Linked DNA regions of Homo sapiens: regions 1 and 2 are each linked to region 3. Evidence: promoter capture Hi-C in 16 types of primary human blood cells and fetal thymus (Javierre and others, 2016). All regions are on one chromosome and are shown on one strand. Each heading gives the region's core, a stretch centred on a gene start or on the middle of the fragment in contact. The rest is flanking DNA. Distances are from core to core; before and after follow the strand shown.

Region 1 (4,110 bases), core at 359-2,858, 170 kb before region 3:
TGAATTAAACAATAGTTAAGAGAGGACAGCAGATGTTTCAAGACAGATCACATCTTAAAAATGAGAGATGACAGATGAAGGGGAAAGTATGAGAACAACTTATGCTTTAGGAAAAGGACGGTAGAGAATTCTAAGGAGGAAACATTAATCTTTTTATGCTATGTGTATACAAGCAAAACAGATAAGGAACACTGAGATAAAAAGAGCAAGCCAAATGAAAAATGTGAAAGCAAAATCACAAAGTCCCCCAAAATAAGCAAAAAAAATTTATTTTATTTTTATTTTTTTAGACGGAGTCTCACTCTGTCACCCAGGCTAGAGTGCAATGGCATGATCTTGGCTCACTGCAACCTCTGTCTCCTGGGTTCAAGCGATTCTCCTGCCTCAGCCTCCTGAGTAGCTGGGATTACAGGCATGGGCCACCACGCCCGGCTAATTTTGTATTTTTAGTAGAGACAGGGTTTCACCATGTTGGTGAGGCTGGTCTTGAACTCCTGACCTTGTGATCCGCCTGCTTCAGCCTCCCAAAGTGCTGGGATTACAGGTGTGAGCCACCATACCCGGCTGCAAAACAAATATTTTTTAATAGTATTTTTACATTTCATTTTGAACAAATTAGGAAGGAGGTGGGGAAAAGGAAATAAACAACAACAAAACAAAAGAAGTGAAGAGGTAAGAGGCAAATAGTCGAAACCTTGACACTGACCAGAAAATCACCTTTCAGAGGTAAACCTATATCACAAACTTGCTATGAAATATTTTTGTTGTTGTTGTTGTTGTTGTTGAGACGGAGTTTTGCTCTTGTTGCCCAGGCTGGAGTGCAAGGGCGCAATCTCGGCTCACTGCAACCTCTGCCTCCCAGGTTCAAGTGATTCTCTTGCCTCAGCCTCCTAAGTAGCGAGGATTATAGGCACCCACCACCATGTTGGGCTAATTTTTGTATTTTTAGTAGAGATGGTGTTTCACTATGTTGGCCAGCCTGGTCTCGAACTCCTGGCCTCAAGTGATCCACCCGCCTGGGCCCCCCAAAGTGCTGGGATTACAGGCGTGAGCCACTGTGCCCAGCCTAAAATATTCTTAAGAAGTAATTTGAAAGTAATCAATATTGCAAAGCTGCAAAGAAACAGGCAGAAAGTATTACTTAACACTACCATTAACCACCTGTATGGTAATTTTCATACATAAACGGCTTTCACATATAATAGGTTGTCAATTCTGTGAGAGAACTTATAATTAGAGAATGCAGTGAGACCTCGTTTCAAAAAAAAGAAAAAAAAAAAAGAGGAAAAGGTCTCTAAGATGTGAAAACACTAAGTGTTCATTATACCATGCCATTTATAAATGTCCTTACCATAAAATACTCAGAGACTAAAAAAAATTGTTGACCTAAGAAAACAAAATTGAGTAGCATGGGACAGTAATTTGGAACCACTAGGTAAAATCCTTACCTAACACTGGTAGAGAGTGGATGAGGAGAAGAGGTAAGAAAATGAAGCTTATACTTGGGTTTATGCCATGGGGATTACCTTTACTGGAACTGCTTTATAACTGGGTATTTTTTGTTTCAGTGGTAACATCCCCAAGGATAAGGTGCAAGATGGCCTCATCCCTTAAGGTACTCATATCATTTTAAGTATGGTTCTAATAAGACTTGGTATCTGTACTATCTAGATTTTATATTTGATGTAAATATAACATCTTAACAGATTCATCAAGCTTCCCACTTAAAGAGATATCAGGTACAAAATAACTAAATTACCTTTAAGAGATGCTTCCTTTTAAATATGATACAAATTATCTTATAGAGATAGCTTTTAGATTCTCTTAAAATAAAAACTTTATACTTTTACTTCAACAAGCTTCTGCAGTAACAGCATGACCAGAATCTGGTAAATTGTAACTTTCAAACTCTTTGAAATTTGGTCAAAATAAATCATCTCTTTTCAAGTTGTTTTGGGAATCCAGACTTTCAGAGGTACATCTTATGTGAGTATATTTTACTAACTGTATGTATGTAAAATCTGAACAAGTGGTTGGTAATAATGGATTGTTAAATACAGTAGGGTAGACTTGATGTCTAGACAAGATAGTGGTGAGAGCTGCACTTTAAAGAACATTGGTTACTTGCTCTGATAAAAAGGAAAAACAAAGAATGTTTCTATTATGTAAGGTTACTATGAAATGCTTAGATCTTGAACCTACAACAATAGATACAGCTGCCACTACTTTGAAAACAATTTCATTGGAATGCATCATATGCTAAAAGCTGATTATTTTCCATGTCCACAACTCTAGTTAACATTTTCAAGACTGTACATTTCACTAATCTTTACTTCTAGCCTCTTTAAATGTAAAACAAAAACAGATTATATATGAGAAACAGCAAGAGCTAGTGAGTGTTGGGAATCATCAGACAATGAGTAGTAGCTGAAATGAGACACTGTAAGAAGAGAAAATGGCCACAGCTACAACACTTACAATTAAATCTAACACCCTATCTACGGAAGAAAACCTGCTCTGCACAATTCATTAACTCAACAAATACTAATTACTGACTGACACATAACAGTGGTATATTCGAAGGTTATTTAAAAACTTATTTTAATTTAAGAGCCCTGTGTCCTTAAGAAGGTTTAAAAAAAAAACTTAAAATTCTATAGTTAAATATGAAATTACTACACACAACTGTGTACAGAAAAAGTAATATTTAACTTTTAATTTTCAGTATGATTTAGATCAGGAAGAGACCTAAGATTATTCAGCCCAACCCTTTTATTTGGAGGGAAAAGCGAAGAAAAGCTAGTAAAGTAGCCCATATAGTCGCACAAATGGTGATAGTACGGAATTCAAAATAAAAAATATATTAAGTAGATTTAGACTTACAACAGACTCTTAATAAAGCTAATAACAATCAACAAAATAAAGTCTGAATTAACTCAATTTTTCTTAGCTAATTGTAATAAGGAAAGGGGTTCCTAAATGGCTAAGAAGTAAAGTTTCACATAACAAAGCTGGCATAGCTATGACTATAATAAAAATTGTCTTTACAGAAACAAAAAATATTCAGGATAAGTGTTTTGAAGTTAAAAGAAAGAAAAGAACACCAAAATAATCAATCCCTTTCCCCAAGTGTCCCTGATTACTCTATTTCTTTATGTTTAAGAACCTCAGAATGGGCCGGGTGCGGTGGCTTACGCCTGTAATAGGTGGGTAGATCTCTCGAGCCCAGAAGTTGGCGACCAACATGGGTAACAAGGTGAAATCCCATCTCTACAAAAAATACAAAAAAAAATTAGCTGGGAGTGGTGGCACACACTTGTAGTCCCAGCTACTCAGGAGGGTGAGGTGGGAGTATTGCTTGAGCCTGGGGGGTGGTGGCTGCAGTGAGGTGTAATCGTGCCACTGCACTCCAGCATGGGCGACAGAGTAAGACCCTGTCTCAAAAAACAAACAAATAAACAAACAACAACAAAAAACACCTCAAAATGGTACCTTCCCTATAACTAAAATGATTCCTATCTATATTTTAACTATAAATTACCTGATGAATATATAATCAGCTCTTTTTTCAAAAGATAGCATACTTATAGGCAGCAGACACCAACCTTTTTGGCAACAGGGACCAGTTTTGAGGAAGACAATTTTTTCCACGGAAGGAGTGAGAGGGCACACAACCTAGATCCCTCGTGTCTGCAGTTCACAATAGGGTCTGCGCTTCTGTGACAATCTAATGCCACCACTGATCTGACAAGCAGTAGAGCTGAGGAGGTAATGCTCACTCCCCTGTCCTCCCTCCCCCCTCCCCATGGCCACTCACCTCCTGCTGTGACGCCCAGTTCCTAACAGGCCACAGACCAGTAGCGGTCCACAAGCCCAGGGGTTGGGGACCCCTGCTTATAGGTAGAAAAATAAACATTTTCATAAAACAGCATTATATTAGGAGAGTGTTCTGAAAGAGCCAAAGAGGTTTAAAAACGAATTCATGGTACTTGTTCTTTTCTCATTTATTATCTACCAAATAAAAATAAAAAGAGAGAGACTCGTCCTTCTACAGATGGCAAGTTTTTGTAATTTGAAGAGTATAATATATTTAAAAAATATTTTCAGGCA
Region 2 (4,469 bases), core at 884-3,383, 250 kb before region 3:
TAGGTAGGTAGCTGAAATCTTCCCTGAGGAAGCCCAAACAGAGTGAAGTAGGAAAAAGGAAATCTGACCTAGGTATTCATGGTTAATTTTACAGATCCACAGAGGAAAATGGTAACCTTTGAAGTCTTCCCACAAATCCCTAAACTAGGCCTAAGGCCAGAAGAGTTCTATATCAGAACGTTTTGGGAATCGTCTTCAAAACCGGAATCCATTTGGCCAATAAAGAGTCTATTTGAATTACAAATTGTGTTGTCCGAATCAGTGTTTCCAAACTAGTCTACCAGCAGAGCCACAACTTTTCTGTTTCTGCCACTTTAAGAGAGTAACAAAAAAAAAAAAAAAAAAAAAAAAAAAAAACTTCTCAGCTGCCTTACTTTGTAGCTGAGATAACAGAATTTGGCCACAGAGTGATTTACTTGACTGATCTATTTATGGCAACTTGTTTATGTATTTTTAAATCACAGTTACAATGAGCTATTGTTCACGTGTATACTGTAGAACCACATAGGTTGCAAATCAATCCCAAGGAATCCTGATGGTACAGGATTATTTTTTAGCTTAAAAAAAAAAAGATACCAAAGGAACTGGTGACCACTTTAAATTGCTTTTATTTACTGATATTTTACAAATTGATGAAGCTCTTAAATATTGCATTTTCCCCTTCATTCTCTTGGTATTTCTATCACCTTGTGATAAGGAGGCTATAGTGGAAACTAAAATTTGTAGTTCAGAAGAGATTAGACCTCTACTGATGAGTACTAATCTATCATTTTTTTTCTGGGCTTGCTTTGAGGATATGTTTTGCTTCTCTTGACCCTTTCTGTAGACAACTGAAGCCAAACTCCACTTTCTCTCAGTGTACCTACAAATAGCTCAGAAACAAGATTAGCTTCAGTATGGGACACTTCCTTGTGTTTGAATAATGATATTCACTTAACCTATTTGTAAAAACTCTCAGTAGTGTACTTGAGTTAGTACATCGCGTGACCTGGCTCCTTTTCTTTGCTGTTATTTACTGATAAAAATAAATCTCCTGCGCTAAGCAGTAGGAATCACTCCGAAATGCAGGGAAAGTCCTAAGAGAATTCATATGCTAATGAGCCCTTCTAAGTGAGAACTTGCTTAAATGTGCCATTTGCTGACATCATTGTTATGGGCAGAGTGGAGATGATTTCTTTAAGAGGTGGCCTTTCATATTCTCCCAGCGTTTCGTGGCCCGCGCGTGCACCTGCGGGAGGGGGAAGTTTACATAAGCGTCCTAGGGTATTTGCATCTTAGCGGCTTCACTCACTGGGCTCGGGAGAATGGAGCGGGCGGGCGGCGGTAGGTGCTCGAGCCGCTAGGCTGGCCAAGGGGGTGGGTAACTTTTCGAGGAATTGTGCGCGCGGGACCTCGTGGAGATCGGCCAGGGGCACGGTCAGCAGTGACAGTTCCTGGAAAGCGGGCGGCGGCGGGAGCAGGCTGGGCAGGCGCCGCCCGCGGGCGGGAGCGGGGAGCTGGGTCCGGCTGGGATCGAAGGGCGGGATCGGCAGGAAACGAAATGGTTACTTTTTTTTTTTTTTTTTTTTTTTTTTTTTTTTTTTTTACTGCGGGCTCTGATTACTTTTGAAGATCGCCGGCCCCAGGCGGGCTCCCGGCGCTGAGCGGAGACGAGTTTTTCTCCCCGCAGAGGAGGATCCTGGAAGGACGCGGAGCTGGGGCTTGGGGGATGCAGTGGCCTGGACGAGGTGACTCCAACCCGGGGGAGCAGAGTCCGTCACGCCGGCAGGGACCGAGGGTCTCTGCGGAGCTGGAGGACCTTTTGTGGGATGCCTCACGGCTGCTGAGGGGCTGCAGCGGGTGAGGATCGCCGCGCTGCGCCGCCAGGGAGCTCGGCGGGGACCGGCCGGGGGGGAAAGTGCGTCACGGCGGGGCGGGGGCGACCCCTCGCCCGCCAGGCGGGGCCAGCACCGGGACGCGACCCGGGGGCGCGGTCCGCTGCAATGTAGTGGGGACCCGGTGCTTGCTGCCCCACCCTGCTGGGGTCTCCTCCGGAAATGAGTGGGTGCGGGTGACTCGTAGGGCACCCAGCCCTCTGTTCCTTCGGGAGTCCTCCGCTCCCGCTCCGGGCCGCCAGCCTCCTTCAGACGCAGAGCGGGCGGGCGGCTAGTGCGCGCCGAGGGCTCAGGGGCCGGCGCCGCGAGGGGCTGCAGGCCGCGCTCGGCCGCTGTCCGGGCCGCAGGTGGGAGCCGCTGTCTGGGTCCCAGGGCTGGATGGCAGCCGGCGGCGGGGACTGAACGCGGGAGGGCTGCAGGGTGCGCGCCGGCGAGGGGCTTCTCGTTGGAAGCTGAGGGACAGACGTGGGGACCCGTGGCTGCTCGGCCCCACCGTCCAGCCGCAGGGCGAGTGCTGCTCCGTGGAGGTGACACGGCGCCAAGAGCGGCGCGAGGCTTTCTGCTGGAGGAGGGTAACGGGGAATTCGAAGGCGACTGTTCTATGCTGGAGGACAAGGGGCACTGTTCTCTCGGGGCTTCGCGTCGGCGCCGAGGAGGGGTTCGCTCGCTGCCTCTGCGTCCTGAGCTCGGCCTCTGGCTCCTGGGGCCGGGGACGCAGAGAGGGGCTGGAGCCGGTCGACCCACGGCCCAGGGCGCCCCCTCGCGGCCTAAGCAGCGGCCGCCGCCTGGAGCGCAGAGTTTGCGGGGCCCAGGGGGCGCCGACGCCCGCTCTGAGGCGTCTCTGCTGCTGCGGCGGCGGGGATGGGGACGACCCAGGGGACCCCCTGCAGCCATCACTGGCAGCCCCATCAAGAATTGGCCGGCTGAGTTTTCCCAAAGTACGGTGACATCCTTTCCTTCTCGCTTCCTCCAGCCCCATTTTTAAAAGCTCGGCCTTTCCCGTTAGTCTGTGTCCTTATAAGCCAGGCTATGTGTGGAATTTGTTTTTACAACTCGAGTCTTGTGACTTCTCAAACACTTTCTTGAAGTGTTTTCTCTGGAAACTTGTTTCAAATGGGTGCTGTAAGTTTCACAAAGAGGAGTGTTGTTCAGGAGCCAACAGGTGACGGGGCGAAACCTGAGTCTGTGTGTACATTGGAGTCAAGTCTGGCTGCCGTTTCCTCGGGCCACTGTTGAAAATAGAAATCCAAAAAATCAATAGAAGACTGAGGAGAACACGATTTTGAGAAAATATCTGCATCCCCCATTATGGAAAATAATGGGCTCATTAGAGCACCGCCTTGTGTGGTGCCCCTCATTCCATGGCATGCATTTTGGATTTTGTCTTTACATACTCGTGTGCGGATAATCTGACCCTAGAAGCGCCGCGCTGGCGGAGGACCAGGCTTTGTCGTCATGTTTCCTCCTTTTGTTTCTTACTGTCATGGAATGTACTTGTGCATGAAATTAGAATGCTTTGAAAGAGTTCCACATTTCCTCTTGGAAAAATGGATAGTTTCTTGACCATTGGGTGATGTGTGATAGCCCACTCAGCTGTTGGGAAATGTACAAGCTGGATGGAGGTTTACCTCGAAAATGCTGGACGGAGGTTTACCTGGAAAATACAGAAAATACTAAAGGGCATATGGCCTAATGCCACTAATTGCTCGTATGGAAAACTTAGTAAAGGAATGTTTCATAAACAATATCTCCTGATAACTTCATTATGTTTTTATTTTTCAAATAAGTGAAATTGAATTGGGCTTTGTTGGCAGTGACTTTGTCTTTAGTAGACAGTAAGCACTGAATGCCCCTTGAGTGTGTGAAACCTTTAAAGAAATGACAGTTTAGTGTCTCTTTTACTGGAAAATTCACATCTCGATTGAAGTTAAGGACATCCTAAACAAGGAAATGTGTATATCCATAAGGGTGGTATATTTTGTATTGTGAAAAGAATGGATGTGTGACATGTTTCTGTACTGCTAAATTAGTCTGTAGTTAAATTTAATTCACCTGCATATGTAGTCTGGGAGAATTGGAGTAGCTTTTGAATGGAGAACCTGTGATCTGCATCTTCCATGCACTAAGGCCTTGTTAACAAGCAGTTTAACAAAGAAGCTGTTAAGCAGTTTGTAGCCCACGGATGGCACTTAGCAGCAGGGGACACCTAGGGAATGTTGGCCTAACTGACTTCACAAATCAGTATCTGTTCTGGCTTTTGGTGATCAGAGGATTTCTAACTTCCCTGGGCATGTTCACACAAGAAATACTTTTTCATAGGGATCTTACAATGCCATGGTAGTCTTCATATAGGAACTAGAGTGGGATTGCATTGGAGAAAAAAATGTAATTAGGGATATGACCTTATACTTCATTTTCAATGGCAGGCCCTGACAATTACTGTTTTCTATTTGCATGATTTTGATTTGGTGACTTGGTTCAAGAAAATTATGAATAATAGGAATCATACCAGACCTGATATACAGTTACAACCTCAATATGTATCTGATTAAACTCATTCTCCTGAAATCCCTCAAATCCTCACTCCCCTTCTGA
Region 3 (4,532 bases), core at 458-2,957:
CAGCAACCTCTCACTCTCGGATTCCAGCGATTCTCCTACCTCAGCCTCCCGAGTAGCTGAGATTACAGGCGCCCGCCACCACAGCTGGCTAATTTTTGTATTTTTTAATAGAGATGGGGTTTCGCCACGTTGGCCAGGCTGGTCTTGTGAACTCCTGACCTCAGGTGATCCGCCCGCCTCGGCCTCCCAAAGTGCTGGGATTACATGCGTGAGCGACCGCAACCGGCCAAAAAATGTTATTATTAATCGCACAACAATCTCATATAGATGCAATTCAGAATATGAAAACGTTGAGAATTACAGAAATTAAGCAATACTTCCAAGGTCTATCAGCTAAGAAACAGGAGAAGCAGGCTGAGAATCCTGGGCTTCTGACTGTATTATTTCCTATGTAGTTTAGCTATAAAATTATTTTACATGAATTCGGACTTGATGTAAACCTAGAAAGATGGACAGAAACAGCACAGTTAAAGAGGGATATACTTTATGCAGAAGTAACCCATGTGCATGAAGGAAGGGTTCTGGTAAGGGAATGAATTTCATCTGCACTCTTTGTCAGGAGGCAGCTTTCCTTATGGGAGAGGGAGGCAGAGGTAGGGAAAATGTGTGAAGCCTTTGAATGCCAGGCTAAGGAGTGTGGGCAAGTCGTTAGTGGTTCTTTATCAGAGTGGTGGCATAGTATTAACAGCATTTTATTATTAATCTGGTTGTGGATTACTGAATACATTGGGGAGGTAGAAGTGGAGCTTCGGAGACCAGTTAGATGGCTGTTGCTGGAGTCTGGAGTATGAGGACCTTTAGTATGTTGACGTAGAGACCTGGGAAGGTGTTCTTTTGTTAGCAGACAGCGTTGAGGGGACATGCAAACTCCTTATATTTAAAAAGGACTTATGAGTATATAGGGGTTTCTTTCAAAAGCAGCTACTGCAGAGGCCTGAGAGGCCAAAAGGGCGCGTTTGGAATTAAAACAGAGTTAGACTCTTGGCTTTGTCATTTTCTAATTATATAGCCTAGAGGAAGTCACCTAATCTCTCTTGAGTCTTGATTTCAATTCCTCTAAGTTAGGGTTGACAATCCCTACTTGTTAGAGCATCTGTGTGCATAAACCAGACAGTGCTTTAAGGCATGTAGCAATGGCGCTGCGTGTTGGTTCCCGCCTTCCCCCCGGTATACTGCAGGCGGGGGCTGGGTAGCTAAGGACAGCGGAGGCCAGGAAAGTCGTTCTACCTGGAGATCCCGGGCTGGCACTTCTGTCCAGACCTGGACAGGCCTCCGAACGCCGGCCGGCCCTACCTTGGACCAGGCTTCGCACGGGATGACGGAGCATCCCCTGCCAGTCGGTGGGACAGACGTTTTCCTCCTCAGAGGGGCTCTGGAGCGCGAGGCAGTCCCCGGCAGCCGGGGGTACCAAGGGGGCAACGGGGGAACAGCGCGGAGAGGCGGCGCCGGCGCCCGAGGCAGCCGCGGCCACCGCGGCCACCCCCGCACCGCCCGCCGGCTAACTCGCCGCGGGTGCTGGGCCGCGCTGGCCGCGTTTGAAGTCTCCGGCGCGGCTGCTGGTTGGCCGGCGAGGGTCACGTGCGCCCAGGCAGGAGTTTCCCCGACAGCTGGAGGCTGCGTGGGATCCGGCGGCGGCTCCCGAGCGCGGCGGTGCGGCCTTCCCCGCCCCCTCCCTCCCTCCTCCCCCGCCCGCTTCCGCCCGGCTTATTATCCTCCTTATTGACAAACAGAGCGGTCGCGGCGGCGACTCTCGGCGTGCGGTGATAGCCAAGCCATGGGAGACAAGAAGAGCCCCACCAGGTAACAGCGCCCGGGCCCCGGGGCCCGGACTGTGCGGGCGGCAGGGCCCTCGTGCAGGGCTTCGGGTGGCCGCCTCGCTAGCCGCCCGGGCACCGGGGCGAGCACGGGGGCAGCGCCGCTGGTGTGCGAGTGCTGCCGCTTGAGGGGGCCGGCGCCGGCCGCCCCACAATGGAGCCGCGATGGCGGCGGCGACCGGAGCGGCCGCCCGGGTGTCAGAGCGGCTGTGGCGGCGGCGACTGCGGCCGCGCTCGCGCCCTGCCTCTTCCTGACTCCCTTCCCCCTCAGCCGGAGCGCGGCGCGCCGAGGGCCCGCGGGGCGGGGGTCGCAGAATTGGGGCGGGGGGCGGGGCGGGGGCGGCCGCGGGGCCCGGGCACCGGGCGCGGCCTGCTGGTGACCCCGCGCCGCGTCGTGTCCGGGTTGTGTCCTGCAGGCCGAAGCGGCAGCCGAAGCCGTCCTCGGATGAGGGTTACTGGGACTGTAGCGTCTGCACCTTCCGGAACAGCGCCGAGGCCTTCAAGTGCATGATGTGCGATGTGCGGAAGGGCACCTCCACCCGGTGAGTCCCGGGCCTGCCCCTCGCGCCGCCGGCCGGCGGGGTGGCGACCAGAGGACGCCCTTGCGGCTGCCGCCCCCTCCCATGACACTGGCGGACCCGGCGGGAGGAGGCAGACGGAGGTGGCTGTGGCGATAGGAACTGGGTCACATTGATCGCAACCCAGGCGATGGTTTGCGGTGAGGGGTAATTGAAGAGGCTGTAACGTTTTTTGCTGCCAAGAGAGAATAAATTATTTAAGGGAGGCATTAGCTACTGCGATTTAATTCGTATCGCTGGGTGTAATGCCCCTCTCCCCATTCTGGGTATAAAAATGTTGGCTGCATTGTTGTGTTAGTGTGTGGGGATCAAGGAAAACCCATAAAATCTCTTTAGGAGCAAAGGATGTAATTTAATTTCGTTCCTAAAGAAAGAAAAGTATCTGATTGCAGAATACACAATATATTAAAACTTATTTTTCTACATGTACTTCTGGAAGGGTCAGATCAAGGTTTTATTTAGTGTTTTTATTCCAGTACTCTAATATTTTATAAATAAGTAGTTGGAGATGAGCCCAGTCACAGGAACAGATTTTTACTGAAAGTACCTTTATATCTTTAGTTTGATTAAATGGCAGTCTCTTAGACAAATGAGATGAAAAGATCTCTGCCTATTTTCAGACTTTATTTATTGTAAGCTTGCAGTATAATAACTCTGTCTTTTAAAAAATGACTTTGAATTAAGTGAATAAAGAAAATCATCCAGGAAATTCAGTCAGTGGCATTCTTAATCTGTCAGCACTTAGTTATCGAGCTCCTTGATTCTTATACGAAGGTACCCTTTGAATTAAATATAATCCTGTGATTTATTACTTAATATTTAGAGAAGATATGTATTTTGATATTACAAAGTCCATTAGAAACTAAACTATAACAATAAGCATACTAATCTTACTGTTGCTTTAAAAAAGAAGGCACATGTAATATTGACATATACAAATATTCAGTAGACGTTAGATTTCTAAAAAATGAGATCTTGATTTTTTAAAAAACACTTTACAGAATTTTATTAAGTTTAAAATTTAGAGACAGGAATGGTTGACAGTAACTTATCTGAAAAATTTCTCAGTGAAGCTCGCTGGTTTTGACATGCTTGTTTTTTGTAAATCATCATATGCTTTTTGTATATTCCCACAATTGATAAAATATTTCGTACATTTTTCATATTCAAAAAGCAAACTTTCAAACGTATGCTAAATTTAAGGGATTACAACAGAACATTCCAAAAAGAAAAAAAGTATTTGCTAAAATGATTGTGGTTACTATTTTTGGACCCGTGATTTGTGATTTAAGTATTTTGAAAAGCAGAGTATCTTCTTGGCTGTGTAAGGTTGGAGTTGGTTTAGAGTATATTTGTGTATCTGTGTTAGTACTTTGTGCTTTTTAAAATGCTCAATAAGCAATTTTTAGAAAATTCGTTTTTTGGAGGCAGGAACATTAAAGTGGAAACAATTATAATCTTGATCTCTGGTACTATATATTATTGCTTTTTGTTGTTCCCTCTCTATTTTCTTGTAGCCATTAGAAAAATACTGAAACTAGAAGAGCCTATATGTTTATTTGCAGGGACAGCAAGGAAGGGGGGAAGCTGGTGTCCTACTCCACAGCCAGTCTTGGGGTTAGAGGAACCCTGAGAAATAGAGTAGGTGGTGGCAGCTCAGAAGAGAAGAAACAGGCTGAATACCTGGCACCTGGAAGAAGAAGGAATATAGTACACAGGGGAGTTGGCCCAGGACAGAGAAGTGGGCCTAGTTTAAAAGAGGCTTGAGGCCCACATGGGGGCCCCTGACATTTTTTTTTTTTACCAGTACATCTAAGCTCTTGTAGATCCAATTTTTAGTGGTGGAAACATTACTTGAGGAGGACTCAGAGAAGCATTGTCATTTGGATTGAAACTGAAGAGGCTCTGGGCAACTCACCAGAAATCTAAGGGACACTGTGTTCCTGAAAGTAAGTGTTCTACACCACGACCCTCTCAGCTTCTTCCTTCCTCTCTCTGAATTCTCTTCTCTTTTGATTTTGGCTCTAAGTTAAACCTAAGAGCTCTAATTTCTCTGTTATCTGTTATTTTCCTAGTGGTTTCTGAAATTCAGGGTAGAATCTGTGTTTGTATAGAACAGTGTGGAACAGGGTATTGTTAC

What was found. Contacts are between HindIII fragments. The CHiCAGO score rates a contact against its expected background, and 5 or more counts as called.
Region 1: a fragment that was not itself captured here is called in contact with the fragment with the promoter of YAF2 in region 3 in 2 of 17 cell types (non-activated CD4 T cells and activated CD4 T cells); the score reaches 6.0 in non-activated CD4 T cells.
Region 2: a contact is called between a fragment that was not itself captured here and the fragment with the promoter of YAF2 in region 3, in 1 of 17 cell types (naive B cells). The highest score is 5.4, in naive B cells.

The regions. Positions count from the first base shown.
Region 1 is chr12:42,401,204-42,405,313 of GRCh38, reverse strand. The region is part of intron 9 of PPHLN1 (periphilin 1); the gene reads right to left. Among named protein-coding and RNA genes, the nearest start is that of PPHLN1, 77 kb to the right of the region's middle. The HindIII fragment of the contact is 221 bases long and covers 1,498-1,718 here.
Region 2 is chr12:42,481,128-42,485,596 of GRCh38, reverse strand. All of the region lies in intron 1 of PRICKLE1 (prickle planar cell polarity protein 1), which reads left to right. Among named protein-coding and RNA genes, the nearest start is that of PRICKLE1, 110 kb to the left of the region's middle. RefSeq lists enhancers at 750-1,658, 2,375-2,494, 3,709-4,320 and silencers at 1,845-2,104, 2,175-2,224, 2,615-2,684. The HindIII fragment of the contact is 4,922 bases long and covers 1-4,469 here.
Region 3 is chr12:42,235,423-42,239,954 of GRCh38, reverse strand. It overlaps YAF2 (YY1 associated factor 2), which reads left to right and starts at 1,707. Exons shown (of 4, transcript NM_005748.6): 1 at 1,707-1,800; 2 at 2,231-2,356. The coding sequence starts at 1,775. It overlaps LOC124902920 (a long non-coding RNA gene), which reads right to left and starts at 1,510. Exons shown (of 2, transcript XR_007063279.1): 1 at 1,228-1,510; 2 at 677-818. RefSeq lists silencers at 962-1,101, 1,292-1,531, 1,582-1,961, 2,062-2,131, 2,252-2,581 and an enhancer at 1,915-2,416. The HindIII fragment of the contact is 7,822 bases long and covers 1-3,031 here.